3 separate regions of the Homo sapiens genome follow, and all the other regions are linked to region 3. The links are contacts of gene promoters, found by promoter capture Hi-C in blood cells and fetal thymus (Javierre and others, 2016). All regions are on one chromosome and are shown on one strand. Each heading gives the region's core, a stretch centred on a gene start or on the middle of the fragment in contact. The rest is flanking DNA. Distances are from core to core; before and after follow the strand shown.

Region 1 (4,665 bases), core at 894-3,393, 940 kb before region 3:
TAAATGCTTGTCAAACTTTAAGTGTTGGCCAGGGTAAAAATAAGGAAAGCAGGCTGGGCACAGTGGCTCACGCCTGTAACCCCAGCACTGTGGGAGGCTGAGGTGGGTGGGTCACCTGAGGTCAGGAGTTCGAGACCAGCCTGGCCAACATGGTGAAACCCAATCTCTACTAAAAAAACAAAATTAGCTGGGCGTGGTGGCACATGCCTGTAATCCCAGCTACTTGGGAGGCTGAGGCAGAAGAATCACTTGAACCTGGGAGGCAGAGGTTGCAGTGAGCCAAGATCGTGCCATTGCACTCCCACCTGGGAAACAAGAGCAAAAACTCCGTCTCTAAATAAATAAATGAATAAATAAATAAATAAGTAAAGAAAGCAAGCATATTGTTTTTAGGATATATTCAGAGAGGCAAATGTGTAAAATTACACTTAAAAAGCCCGTAAAGCTCCCAAGGCATGTGTATTTTTCCCACAGAAACATAAGAGCTAACACCAATTCCAGAAGAAAAACTAGATGAGCACAGTCAGTGCGGCGTTAGAGAAACCGAGGAGAGTCAGCCAGTGTTCAGCAGCGAACCCAAGGTGTAACGGGGTTCTGAAAACAGGGCAAGCTGTGCCAACCTCCTGTAGGTCAGCCACTGTTTTGTTTTTAAAAAGTGGTTTTCACCAAGATGTAAATTCTGTGACTCTTAAATGTTTTTACATTTTTAATTTCTGCTGCCAGAAATGTTAACCTGCTTTCTGAAAAACTGGCTCCTCATCAAGAAGGCCTTTGGTTTAATAGTGACTCCTGGAGGGAGGGTGGAGAGGAAACATTCTGCACCAGCGCCGCCCTCTTCACACACACCCACCCGCGCCGCCCTCTTCACACACACTCACCCGCGCCGCCCTCTTCACACACGCTCACCCGCGCCGCCCTCTTCACACACACTCATCCGCGCTGCCCTCTTCACACACACTCACCGTCGCTGCATCTCTGCACACACGCTCACCGGTGCCACACGAAGTGTGTGCAGAGTGTGGCACCGGTGAGTGTATGTGCAGAGTGCGGTGCCGGTGAGTGCGTGTGCAGAGCAGAGAATCCAAACCCAGAACCAGTGCTAAAGAGTTCTCCTGTCTTGCAACTTTACACATTTGAGACAAATTAGCATGGGAAACTTCACTTATACAAATAAAACAAAAGACCCCCAGCACACCACCCTGTGAATCTTTCACACAATCGGCAAATGTGGTAGGCTTGCTTCCAGGAACCATTAGAATTTAAACAAACCAATTTTTAAAAACCTGGCAGTAGTTTATGAACTTTGAAAAGTTAAGTATAGGCCTGCGCGGTGGCTTAGGCCTGTAATCCCAGCACTCTGGGAGGCCAAGGTGGGTGGATTACCTGAGGTCAGGAGTTTAAGACCAGCCTGGCCGACACGGTGAAACCCCGTCTCTACTAAAAATACAAAAATTAGCCAGGCGTGGTGGTGGGCACCTGTAATCCCAGCTACTCAGGAGGCTGAGGCAGGAGAATCACTTGAACCTGGGAAGCGGAGGTTGCAGTGAGCCAAGATCGCACCACTGCACTCTAGCCTGGGCAACAAGAACAAAACTCTGTCTCAAAAAAGAAAAAGTTAAGTATAAAACAAACAAAAATCTGAAAAAGATCTTACTTGGACTTGCAGGGCACACATGCACATGCATACACGCGTCTGCTTAATGAAAGCGGCACTGATTTTAAACGTTCTACCTAGCTCTACTGGGTGTCCTGTGAAGGACATGGGGGTCATGAGGGTACCAGAGGTGCTGCCCCCTTCACACCCACCTCGACCGCCGCACTGTCCGATAGGCACTGGGAAGAGAATGCTTTGCTTTTGAGTGTGATCTAGACCTGGACTTGGATGACGAATGGTACTTGGGAGAACGTGATCTTGTTCGAGATCTTTTTTTGTGCTTTTTCTTTTTCTTTTCTTTCTCTTCTTCTCTCGGTGGATCTTTGCTTTTGCTCGAAGGCCTATCGGGTGGTTTAACTTCTAAAGTAGGCAGAGGCCTGCCTCCAGTCAGTAGAGGGCAGGGCGTAGTGCTGGATTCCTAAGAATAAAAGGAAAATCTGGGTGTTAACAGGGAAAACAGAACATTGAAGATGTATATCTATAAAATTTCAACTTTGGGCCCCTCACACCAACAAACACAGCAACCATCTCTTAGAAAGTCTCCTCCTGTGGCTATCCAGAGTGACCTCCTTGTCACCTCCCAGGATGCAAAAGGAGAAAGTGAACCCTCTGGTTCCCGAGCATTTCCACAGGCAGCACTCTCTTCCCAGCCCCCAGGCTGTGGACAGCCGGAGCCAACAAGAGGAGCACAGTATTAGAGTATTAGAGATGCTACGCTGGGAAAAAATACGTTCCTTTTTAGTTCACCCATTGTGGAAGTCAGTGTGGCCATTCCTCAGGGATCTAGAACCAGAAATACCATTTGACCCAGCCATCCCATTACTGGGTATATACCCAAAGGATTGTAAATCATGCTGCTATAAAGACACATGCACACGTATGTTTATTGTGGCACTCTTCACAATAGCAAAGATTTCGAACCAACGCAAACGTCCAACAATGATAGACTGGATTAAGAAAATGCGGCACATATACACCATGGAATACTATGCAGCCATAAAAAATGATGAGTTCATGTCCTTTGTAGGGACATGGATGAAGCTGGAAACCATCATTCTCAGCAAACTATCACCAAGGACAAAAAACCAAACACCGCATGTTCTCACTCATAGGTGGGAACTGAACAACGAGAACACATGGTCACAGGAAGGGGAACATCACACACCGGGGCCTGTTGTGGGGTGGGGTGAGCGGGGAGGGATAGCATTAGGAGATATACCTAACGTTAAATGATGAGTTAATGGGTGCAGCACACCAACATGGCACATGTATACATATGTAACTAACCTGCACGTTGTGCACATGTACCCTAAAACTTAAAGTATAATAAAAAAAAATAGTTCTTAAGGAAAAACAAAAAAAACAGTTTTAACTACCAGAGGAGAGATTCCTCAAACCTCCGATGTTAGGTTTTTAAATGAGTATCGGCACTACTCTGACAATAATTTTTAAAGAAGGTCTAGGCTCCCCTTTGATGTTTTAAAACCTCTCCATCTGAGTGTTACATACATACAGAAGAGCATATGAATCTTCAATGCATGCTGACACATTTCCACCACAGCGCATCGGAACCAGATCAGGAGACAGCACCCTTCAACAGCATAGGCCTGCAGCCTGCCCCTCTTTACCCAGAAAGCTCACTCTCTCCTCACTTCAAGTGAATTTTAAATTATAGCTGTTAAACATTTCACACCTTTAGACACAGTGAAAAATCTGCAATTTATCCTTTGTGCCTCGAAGAAATTCAGGTTAGGTGCTGGGGTGGGACCCAGTCTCCCAGGCTGCCCCCAGCTGCTCCCCGGGGAGAGCTCCAGCCCAGCCCGCGGCAGTGTGCGCAGGACGGCATCTGTGAAAGGCAAAGTGGTAAGGGGGCTTCCCTCCCTTCTTTCCTCTCCTTAGGTCCGCTGTGGCAAGGCCAACTGGCTGCGGGAAAACACTGTAGAAACGATTCTTCTACAGTTATGCTTCTTGCTTTGGCTTTGAGATCAAAAGCAATTCAGCAGAGCCCTGGTGGGGCAGGCCCCAATTTAAGATGAGTTTCCACTTGAGCTGGCTGCTTTATGATGGCACGGTGATTTCTCAGCCCTCTGTTCAGCCTCCTTGCTGTTTCCGTTTACACTGTGCTCTCTAATGCCCCTCCCTGGTTGTGGGTGTGCGGCGGGCAAGAGGGCAGGGATGAATTCCTCCTTGGGATCTGATGGCCGCTATGAGGTTCATCTTTAAGTCTCTGCCTAAATTATCTCCAGGGACATTTTGGCAAAAAAATCCACTTTACTGTGGGACAGTTCTTATCAAAAAGGTCTTTCTCATTTAAAATTCTGTTAAGTGTAACAATATTTTTCAGGTCAAACTTTTAAATATTTTATTATTTTTGTTTGTTTTGAGGCAGAGTCTTGCTCTGTTGCCGGGGTGGAGTGCAGTGGCGTGATCTCAGCTCACCGCAACCTCCGCCTTCCGGCCTCAAGTGATTCTTGTGCCTCAGCCTCCTGAGTAGCTGGGATTACAGGCATGTGCCATCATGCTCAGCTAATTTTTTTTTTTTTTTTTGTATTTTTAGTAGAGAAAGGGTTTTGCTATTTTGGCCAGGCTGGTCTCAAACTCCTGGCCTCAAGTGAACTGCACACCTCAGCATCCCAAAGTGCTGAGATTACGGGCGTGAACCACCGTGCCCAGCTAAAATATTTTATTGCTTACATAATTCTAACACACAAACGTCCAATGACAAAGCAAGCTCTATATCCAAGAACACCCCCACTCTGGCATTAGTCAGGATTTGCCCACAAGCAATGCTAAATGATCCTTTAAATTAAACATACAATAAATAAAAAGGTAGTAAGCTTTACAACTTCAGAGGCTCAACATCCTAGCTATGGCCTCTCCCATACACACCGAAAGGGAGAGGGCTTCCATTCTGCAAAGAGCAAAGAACACAGGTTTGCGAGCTGAGCACATCCTCTGAGGCGAGCCCTGGGTGGACACCAGAGAAATCAGCTGATGCACTAAAAAAATGC
Region 2 (4,686 bases), core at 1,687-4,186, 770 kb before region 3:
TGAGGACTGAGCGCTTTTTCTGGGGTTAGTGCCCTTCCAAAAGGGACCCTAGGAAGCCCCCAATCCCTTCCACCATGCAACAATGTAGTCAGAAGGCGTCGTCCATGAACCAGGAAGTGGTCCTCATCAGATGCTGACTCTGCCAGCCTCTAGAATGGTGAAAAATAAATTTCTGTTGTTTCTAAGCCACCCATTCTGTGGTTTTGTTTCAGCGGCTCAAATGGACTGACCAACACGGATTCTAATGTGGCTTCTCGGGGTGGGGGGCCGCGTCCCATCCCTGCTCTGTTTAAACCCAGGGCTCTGCAGCCTCGGCTGCCGTGGTCCACATGGGTCCCCTCGAGGGCCACAGTCCACCCAGGTCAGCCTGGGCAGAGGCCAGAGAAGGGGGCCGAGGCGGGGGAGAGGTGGGTGAAGAAACACTGGGCGGTCCATTGGTGACAATCGGAAGACCTCGCTGATGGCAGGGGTCCCTGGATTCTTTGAACCAGGGGACACGCGGCAGACCTGGCCACTCCCCCTACATGGCAGCAAGTGCCGGGCTGGGCAGCCACCCCCAGATGCTCACTCCCTGCGGGTCCCATAGCCTGCACAGGTGCCCCACTGGTGCCACACCCCTGAGTGTGGGCACGGGGCCTGTGCCCTTCCCTCTGCTCCATGTTATCAGCACAGTGTGGATGAGTGTGGGTCCCGAAGTGCAAAATGAGAAAATCTTCCCCCAGTGCTGTAGCTCCACCCAGCCCAGCGGTAACCGGAGAGCCAGCGGCCCTGCAGCAGGACCCTAATGAGAACTGCGCCTGTGGCAGGAAGGACACCTTGGGCTGTGTGTACACGTGTAGACAGGACACGGGGACATAGACGCTGGATTCCTGCTAACATCACAGCCTCAGGCCCCAGGCAAGAGAGGGTCAGGTCAGGTCCCCAAATGAGCAATTAGAGAGGTTACTTTCAAGTGGAGAGCCAGTGGCGAAGTAACTTAATTCTGCAAAGTGTCGTGACTCAAGACTCAGGCAGGTGGAAGGAGCGGGTGGGCGGCTCACAGCGGAGTGGGGAAGGGGCAGGATCCCCACGATGTCAGCGGCCAGGTGGGGTGGAGACCGAGGGCAGGACCCCACCCCAGGGGATTTTTCCAGGGTCTCGACAGCACCACAGGCTCACCCCATCACGATTTGGAATACGTGGCCCTGGGTTTCCTCTGGGCTGGTGGGCCATTTGGTGGGGCACAGAGCCGGAAACAAGTGCACCATGGATCATGTGGCATGGCTGCAGGGAGGACAGGGCCTGGGGGGCACAGAGCCAGGGCACAGGGAGCCTGGGCCTTCTTGTGCAGGTGGGTGGGGCCATGCTGGGCAGGGGGAGCAGGCACCCCTGCCTGTACAATGGATTGGCACAAAGGACCCCTGAGTGGACTCAGCCCACGTCAGAGCCGTTTCCGGGCAGTTGGGTGCAGGCTGGATGGAACCCCACACACCACGTGTGGACTCAGCCCACGTCAGAGCCGTGTCCGGGCAGCTGGGTGCAGGCTGGATGGAACCCCACACACCCCGTGTGGCTGAAGGGTCTCTGGTTGGCTTCTCTCTGCCCCAGCCCACGTGAGGCACAGTCAGCATGAACTGTGGGGCCTCCGCTCTGCTGAGCCCCAGGGCTAGGTCTGCAGAAAGCAGAGGCTCATTTAGACCCCAAACACCCAACTACCCAAGGCACCAAGACTGGTTGGCTGCAGAGGAACTGAGACCCAGAGTTATTTTTAATGAGTGAAATAGAGGAGACGGCTTCGTCTCCGTCTTCCTGGCCCAGACACTATCTCCCTCCCATCTCCACTGTGCACACCCGAGCCGCAGGCACCATGCCCTCATTCCACAGGCACTCCAGCCTGCCCTGTGAAGGCTGCTGCTGCTGTAGCAGGTGCCTTGGAGGCTCTGCCCTGCCCACATGCCGCTCCTGTTCCAAGAAACAGCCCACAGCCCGACCCTGCAAACTAGCCAGCCTGCAGTGCGGCCCACATCTCCAGGAATCTGCTGTCCACTGGCGCCTTCCGCCACACCTCCGCTGTTCTTGAGAGCATCCTTGGGCTTCAACTTCCCCATACTGTGCTGCAGATGAAGTTAGTTTCCTTGGGAAGAGACCTGGAGCCCTCACTTTTACCCTCCCCTGGGCAAAATCCCTGAGCCTCCACTCTGGAGCTGGAACTGTGTGTAGGGACATTGCCCGCTTCCTGCCAGGTGTCACCATCCTGTCCCATCTTAGGGACCCAGGACTCTATCCAGCAGGCTACGGTGTGGGAAGGGATGCTGTTTAAACAAGAAGGCAGAGGAGCTGGCAAGCGGGCCCAAGGGGTGTCCAGAGAAATGGGAGGAAAACCAGGAAAGTTTAATGACAGAAAAGGCAAGAAAAGAGAGGGTGCCAGGAAGAGGAGGCCGGCTGCCCCCGCTCTCCCTTGCAGGTGGCTTTGTCATCTTTCCTCTGCTGGTCTGACTTCTCTGCCCCTCTGTCCATGAGGCAGAAGGTGCTCCCCACCCAGCACACAGCCCCGAGATTCCTCATATCTTGCTTACGAGGCAGGCTCAACCCGAAACAAGACTCTTGGCGCCCAGGCCAGGTGGCCAGGGAGAGGCCTGCTTGTGTCAGAGGTCATCAAAGGTCCAGTCAACTGTGCCCTGGAGGGTGTGGCCTCCTCATAGACAGGTGGGATCTGGGACCACTGCGGGCAGCCACTCTCCAGCTCCTTCAGACGAACCTGCTCCAACGGACCCAGTGTTGCCATGGGCTATAAAACGGGGGACACTCCTGTCCCACTGCAGCTCTGCAGGCTCTTGATTAATTTCTGAGGTTGACCATCAGAAGCTTCACATTCGTGGACGAAGACAGAGAGGGCCTCCACCAACAGGGCTACAATGTTGTCTTTTCATGCCTTGTTCCCTACCCGTTGGGCAGGTGAAGCCACGGCTGTTTCTTTCATGCCGCTCTTAAGGCTATGGGAACACAAGGCCCACATCTCCTGTTTTGTAGCTGAGTTCTCTAAAGCTTTCCATGATGGCCCCACCGCCCTTCTCTCATGATCAAAGGTGCCAGCGTCACCAGCCGCTTCCCTGGGATGCCCTGCATTGCTGCCAAGGAGCCAGGGATGGCTTGGGGCCGCCTTCCCACCAAAACCCCACAGCGAGGTCCCCAGAGTCTCTCATGGTTTGCTGCAGGCAGCCACATTCCTGCCTCCAAGTACTGATTTTTGAGACAACAGAGCACAGCATTAGGCTTCAGATGGATTAGCTAGGTGCGCTAGCCTTCCTCAAAAAGCTGCTGGAACAGACAGTATTGCATTCATGTTAATGGCTGAGTAGTACCCCTTGGTGTATAGACACCACGTTTTCTTTATCCATTCAGTAGCCGATGGGCAGCAACTCGGACGGAGCTGGGGGCATTATTCTAAGTGAAGGAACACAGGCGTGGAAAACCAAAACCACATGTTCTCACTTGTCAGAGGGAGCTAGGCTGACTACGCGAAGGCGTACGGAGTGATGTAATGGGCTCTAGAGGCTCAGAAGGAGGAGGGCGGGATGGGGCTAGGGATAAAAAGACCTACACGCTAGGACAATGGACACCCCTTGGGTGACGGGGGCACTAGAATCTCAGAATTCACCACCACACAATTCATGCATGTAACAAAAACCACCAAAATGCTATCGAAGTAGAAAAAAAACCTGTAAAATACAAAAAACAAACCAACTTCTTTTTGTTTGGAAAATCAACAAATTTGATTTTCCTGTTGTGTCTCTGACCACAGCCTGTCTGGCGGGAGGAGTCGGTTGCAGGCTGAGCAGGAAGGGCGGCCCCAACCTCCCCCTGGAGGCCCGTCCTGGAACTGCGTGTTTCTGTTCCCGCAGAACCACAGAAGCCACGTGTCAGAGTGAACATGGGGTGTTGGCTTGGCTCCCCCAAAGATTTTAAAAGCAGAAACTCTCCAAGCAAAATATCTGCGTTGTCTATGGTGGAACTTGCCTTAGTGATGTTGCTGCATTCGCCAACACCTGCTCCATATCAAAGACAAAATAGTGGTGAGGAGGTGTGGGGATACGAGAGACAATATCCCAAACTGGGCTTAAACATAAGTGATCACACATGGTGTGGCGCTTTCACATAAATTATGCGCGTTTCCATGGAAACAACGCAGAAATCAGACGAAGGCAGTACATGCCAAATATAAAGTATTTAATTCTAAACAGTAACAGATTTTAAACTGTTTATTCCCAGAATTGCTTCAAATGGTCACATGGCAAAAACAAATGCCATTAATGTGTTTTTGCTTCTCTCTCATTTGTCCATTGCATTGATTTCCTATGAAATGTAAATAAAACAATTAAAACAAAATTGATATCGAATGCAACTGAAGAGAAGTAAAAATCGCAAGCCCCAGTGGTATTTTTAATCAGAGCTAACCCATCATAGATGAAAATTAAGGAAGAATTTATGCTAGGACTGTAATGTTACTAACTGAGGACCTTCAATTCTTTATTCACCTATTTAAATGATCTTTGCTGGACATTTCTAAGAGTGAAATTCTTCATTTACAGTTTCTACCGCTCAATTTTGTAATAAAACAAAAATGTCAGACCATCCAGACACATGAAAGAGCCAAAATGAAGTATCCCACAAAGACTTTTGGAAGGTAGAAAAACAAACAAACAAACA
Region 3 (4,822 bases), core at 1,146-3,645:
TGAAAGAAGAGAAATACGGCTCTGTTCCGCCTGGCTCACCGGCAGTCAGAGTTTAAGGTTATCTCTCTTGTTCCCTGAACATTGCTGTTATCCTGTTCTTTTTTCTAGGTGCCCAGATTTCATATTGTTCAAACACACATGCTCTACAAACAATTTGTGCAGTTAACAAAATCATCACAGGGTCCTGAGGCGACATACATCCTCCTCAGCTTACGAAGATGATGGGATTAAGAGATTAAAGTAAAGACAGGCCTAGGAAATCACAAGGGTATTGACTGGGGAAGTGATAAGTGTCCATGAAATCTTCACAATTTATGTTCAGAGATTACAGTAAAGACAGGCATAAGAAATTATAAAAGTATTAATTTGGGGAACTAATAAATGTCCATGAAATCTTCATAATTTATGTTCTTCTTCCATGGCTTCAGCCGGTCCCTCCATTCAGGGTCCCTGAATTCCCACAACGATTATTCACAACTTCATTTTTTTTCTCTGGCAGGATAAGGAAAGTTTTGAGGTTGGGCATGGTGGGCTCATGTCTGTGGTCCCTGTGCTTTTGGAGGCTGAGGTGGGAGGATTACTTGAGCCCAGGAGTTCAAGGCGGCAGTGGACTATGACCATGCCACTGCACTCCAGTCTGGGAGACAGAATAAGACTCTGTCTCAAACAAACAAACAAACAAACAAAAAGTTTTGGTTGCCAATTCAACACCATCCAGCTGCTGCCAATATTATCATATGTTTTTGAAAAATCCACTGGGAGAGAGGGAGAAACGAGGGAGGGCCCAGTATTTACCAGAGAGGGAGAATTAAAATGGTGGTGGCAGAGGCAAGAAGGCCGAAAGAAAAGCACTTGCCTGTTGCGGGGTCCAGGAGGCATTCTGGTGGGGAAGTTCAGGATATGGAGAGAAAAAACATATCTTTTTTTTTTTTTTGGAGACGGAGTCTCGCTTTACTGTCCAGGCTGGAGTGCAGTGGTGCGATCTTGGCTCACTGCAAGCTCCACCTCCCGGGTTCAAGCAATTCTCATGCATCAGCCTCCTGAGTAGCTGGGATTACAGGTGCCCGCCACCACACTCACCTGGACAACTGGCTGTCAAGACCTTCCATCGGGTAACAGAACCACATCACACCTAGAACCAAGTCCAAAACGTCCTGTTTTTTAATGTGTAGCCTGTTGCTCTCAAGCAGATTTCTTAGCGCTGCCTTCTGGTCAGACCAAAGCCACCTCCTCCAGGAGGCAGTAAAGACTTTAACCTTGTTTAAAAACAAATCTGGCCTTGCCTTCTCCTCCTGGAAGGCAATCTTTGTTTGCCTGGGAGTCTTCGGCTAGCCAGAGAGTAACAGTGTGATTTATGGTGGGGGCTTAGGGTTACATGGATATCACTTAACCAAGAGGCTGAGATCAAGCATGAAAGCAATCAAACAATCAATCAATCATGCACATGCAATGGAGCCCAGTAAACGTTCTGCACACTGTGGCTCAAGTGAGCTTCCCTGGCTGGCAGTACTTCGTGTGTAAGGCCACACATCAGTGCAGGGCAAGTAATGAGGCCTGACTACACAGGGAGAGGACCACGGGAGGACCTTGAAGCTGCACGCCGTAATCCCCAGACTCCCCCTCTGCCCTTCTTCCTTGGCTGATGTTAATCCGTATCATTTTCCTGCTAAGAAACCATAGTTGTGAGTACAGTAGTTTTTAGTGTATTCTGTGATTCCTTCTAGCAAATTATGGAACTTGAAGGTGGTTTTGGAAACCGCCAGAATTTGCCGTTGGTGTCAGAGGTGATAATGGTCTTGGGGACTGTTCCCCCAACCTGGGTAGTTCACCTAAGCTCCTGCACCTTCATGACGACCTCTCTGCCAGTTCCGTGCCCATGCCCTTACTTTCTTTTCTCATCTATCATTTATTTGTCTGTGTCTGTATTGCCTGTTTCTCCTGCCAGAATGGTATCCCAGGGCTGGGCCTGCGGACGCTCTTCCCGTTACCGCCCCCTGCCGTGTTATGCTCCGTAAGCATCATGTGTGGTACACGATCTCTTCTCCTTCATTCACACCCGAGGCTGCGCGTGGACCCTTAAAGAGAAGGTTCGGCATATGTATTACCCAAAGCTGCACCCAGCACATTCCGGGAGCTTTGCTCTTTTGTCACTATTCGTTGAATGCTCTATATTTTGATAAATAAAACAATGAGTGTGAAAGCATAAAAGCAGATCAAGGGACAAACAGCACGTGTAGCGGAACTGCCAGCCTGGGGCTCGGCCGGACCCCGCCCCTCCCCGCCTAGGCCCCGCCCCCAGGCCCCGCCCCTCCGGGCTCCCGCTGGAAAGCGCTGCCGCCGTGTGGGTGGGTGCGGGGCGCGGCGCGGGCCGGGCATGCGCAGAGCGCGCGGGGCGCGGTTGCCGTGGCAGCGCCGGCTCCAGGGAGGGCTGCTGGCGCCGGGCCGGGACCGCGGGGCCTGAGGCGGAGACCGGAGAGCCCGAGGCCCGGCCGGAGGCAGCTCGGGACAGGCTTGAGCGGCGGGGCGCGCTGCCCGGCCGGCGGGGATGCGGGACCGGCTGCCAGACCTGACGGCGGTGAGCGGCAGCCGCGGGTAGCGGTTCAGGCCCGGCCGGGGCGGCGTCTGGAGGGCGGGCGGGGGCTCGGGGCGTCTTGGGCGGGGCTCCGGGAGGGTCCCCAGGGCGGGGATCTCCGGCGTTCTGGGGCGGGGGCTGCGGGCAGGGTCTCAGGGAGTCCTGAGCGGGGACTGCTGGTGGGGTCCCCAGGGCGGGGGTCCCGGGAGTCCTAGGGTGGGGGCTCCGGGCGGGGTCCCCAGGGCTTCCTGGGCGGAGTCCTCAGGGCGGGTTGGGGCAGGAGGAGGGAGCGGGGAAGGTCCCGGCCTCGACCCCCTCTTCGAGCGTGGCTCCCTGTCCGTCACTCCGCTTGGCGGATTGTATCTGGCGCTTACCCAGCCGGAGCCCACTGGCCTAACTGTGGTCCGCCCCACGGGGTCCCCGCAGCTGGCGTCAGCCCCGGGGAGCAGGCCGGGTCCTCTTGGTCGCTGCTTTATCCCTGGGGCTTCACAAAGGACTGTGCACCAAGCGGGAGGCAACAGATGGGTGTGAAATGTGGGCACCTTAGAGTGCTGGGTGCTTGGGGTGGGGCGAGCGCGAACAGCAGCTTGTGTCTGATCTCCCAGTAGTTTGCTTTGGAAACTGGGACCGTGTGTTGACTCTGAACGCACCTTACGCGCCCAGCAGCCGGGCACACAGCAAGTTACTGTTTACTTTAGCAAGGGAAAAGCAGGTCACTAAAAATTTTGGAAGGATTTCGATGCATTCTACACGTGTAAAGGTGACAGGACTGTGCATGGTGCAGTGACAGCGGAATGATAGTGATGGTCGTGCACTTTCCAAGCTTGTCTAACCCAGGACGGCTTAGGCCAGCAGAAGTAGTTATGACTTTTTCCCTTTACAATACAGGTACTAATTCATGCTACGTGTGTGCACAGATAGAGCCTCTGGTCTCTAAATTGTTGGCAGCCTCAGAACAGGGGTGCTAAGGCCCACAGCCCTACGACACCCACTGCATGTAATGAATTATTCTCTCTCCTCTGCTGCTAGAATGGAGCTGTTATGTACCCCCGAGTGGGAGAATAGAGAAAAGAGCCACTTAAATCATTATCTGTGTTCTGTGGTTCAGATGAGGAGCTCTGGTTGAGAAAGGCAATGATTTCATCCTTAGGATCATGGAAATTATGCTTTATATTCATTCCAAGGAAGTTTCTTCACGGTGATTTTTCCTTTTTTATTAATGGACAAATATTCCCTGTGTTCCGCAGATCAATATCATCTTAAACACAGCAAATTATAGTTGTGTTGTCTTGCCCGATGGATTATCTTTCAGTGCCGTGTAGTAGGAGCTCAGGTATTTATTTAATGAAGAAAAGCTGTGGCTCACTCCTGTAATCCCAGCAGTCTGGGAGATCAGGGTGGGGGCATCACTTGAGCCCAGGTATTGGAGACCAGCTTGGGCAACACAGGGAGACACTGTTTCTCGAAAAAAATTAAAAAATTAGCAGGAGGCCAGTCGCAGTGGCTCATGCCTGTAATCCCAGCACTTTGGGAGGCCGAGTTGGGTGGACCACTTGAGGTCAGGAGTTGGAGACTAGCCTGGCCAACATGGCAAAACCCCGTTTCTACTAAAATAGCCGGATGTCATGGCGCACACCTGTAGTCCCAGCTACTCTGGAGGCTGCGGCAGGAGCATCGCTTGAATCCAGGAGGCGGAGGTTGCAGAAAGCCGAGATTGTGCCACTGTACTCCAGTCTGGGCAACAGAAAGAGACTCTGTTTCAGAAAAACCAACAAAACAAAGCACGCACAAAAAAACTATCCAGGTGTGACTCGCACCTGTAGTCCTTGGTACTCAGGAGGCTAAGCTAGGAGGATTCCTTGAGCCCAGGAGATAGAGGCTGCAGTGAGCCATGATTGTGCCATGCCACTGCACTCCCGCCTGGGTGACAGAGTGAGACATTGTCTCATAAAAAAAAAAAAAAAAAGCTCAATGTCATTGAACGTGAGAGCTGTGACTATTTTGGCAAAATACAGCCAAATTTATATGTTGGGGAATCGTGAGAAAGTACGTTTTCTTGGCTTGAATAGCAAAAAGCAAATAAGGCAATTATTTGTCACTCAGTTTCTATATATCCAAACCCTTCCTGAAACAGTAGAACATGTCAATCAGTTTTGTTCTAGAACGGCAGAGCTAGAAGTCAGCTCATCTACTTCAATACCATCCTGCTTTAGACACAGCAGCTGAGCAGTCAGAGAGTATATCCGTGGA

Evidence for each region. The method cuts DNA at HindIII sites, captures the fragments that hold promoters and counts their contacts. A CHiCAGO score of 5 or more calls a contact.
Region 1: a contact is called between a fragment that was not itself captured here and the fragment with the promoter of STX2 in region 3, in 4 of 17 cell types (erythroblasts, endothelial precursors, monocytes and 1 more). The highest score is 6.4, in erythroblasts.
Region 2: a fragment that was not itself captured here is called in contact with the fragment with the promoter of STX2 in region 3 in 1 of 17 cell types (monocytes); the score reaches 5.0 in monocytes.

What each region holds. Positions count from the first base shown.
Region 1 is chr12:131,775,472-131,780,136 of GRCh38, reverse strand. It overlaps SFSWAP (splicing factor SWAP), which reads right to left. Exons shown (of 18, transcript NM_004592.4): 14 at 1,807-2,072. Among named protein-coding and RNA genes, the nearest start is that of MMP17, 51 kb to the left of the region's middle. The HindIII fragment of the contact is 4,700 bases long and covers 1-4,493 here.
Region 2 is chr12:131,608,369-131,613,054 of GRCh38, reverse strand. No RefSeq gene overlaps it. Among named protein-coding and RNA genes, the nearest start is that of LINC02414, 37 kb to the left of the region's middle. The HindIII fragment of the contact is 180 bases long and covers 2,847-3,026 here.
Region 3 is chr12:130,836,823-130,841,644 of GRCh38, reverse strand. STX2 (syntaxin 2) reads left to right here and starts at 2,395. Exons shown (of 11, transcript NM_194356.4): 1 at 2,395-2,575. The coding sequence starts at 2,546. RefSeq lists silencers at 2,192-2,701, 2,772-2,831. The HindIII fragment of the contact is 18,553 bases long and covers 1-3,397 here.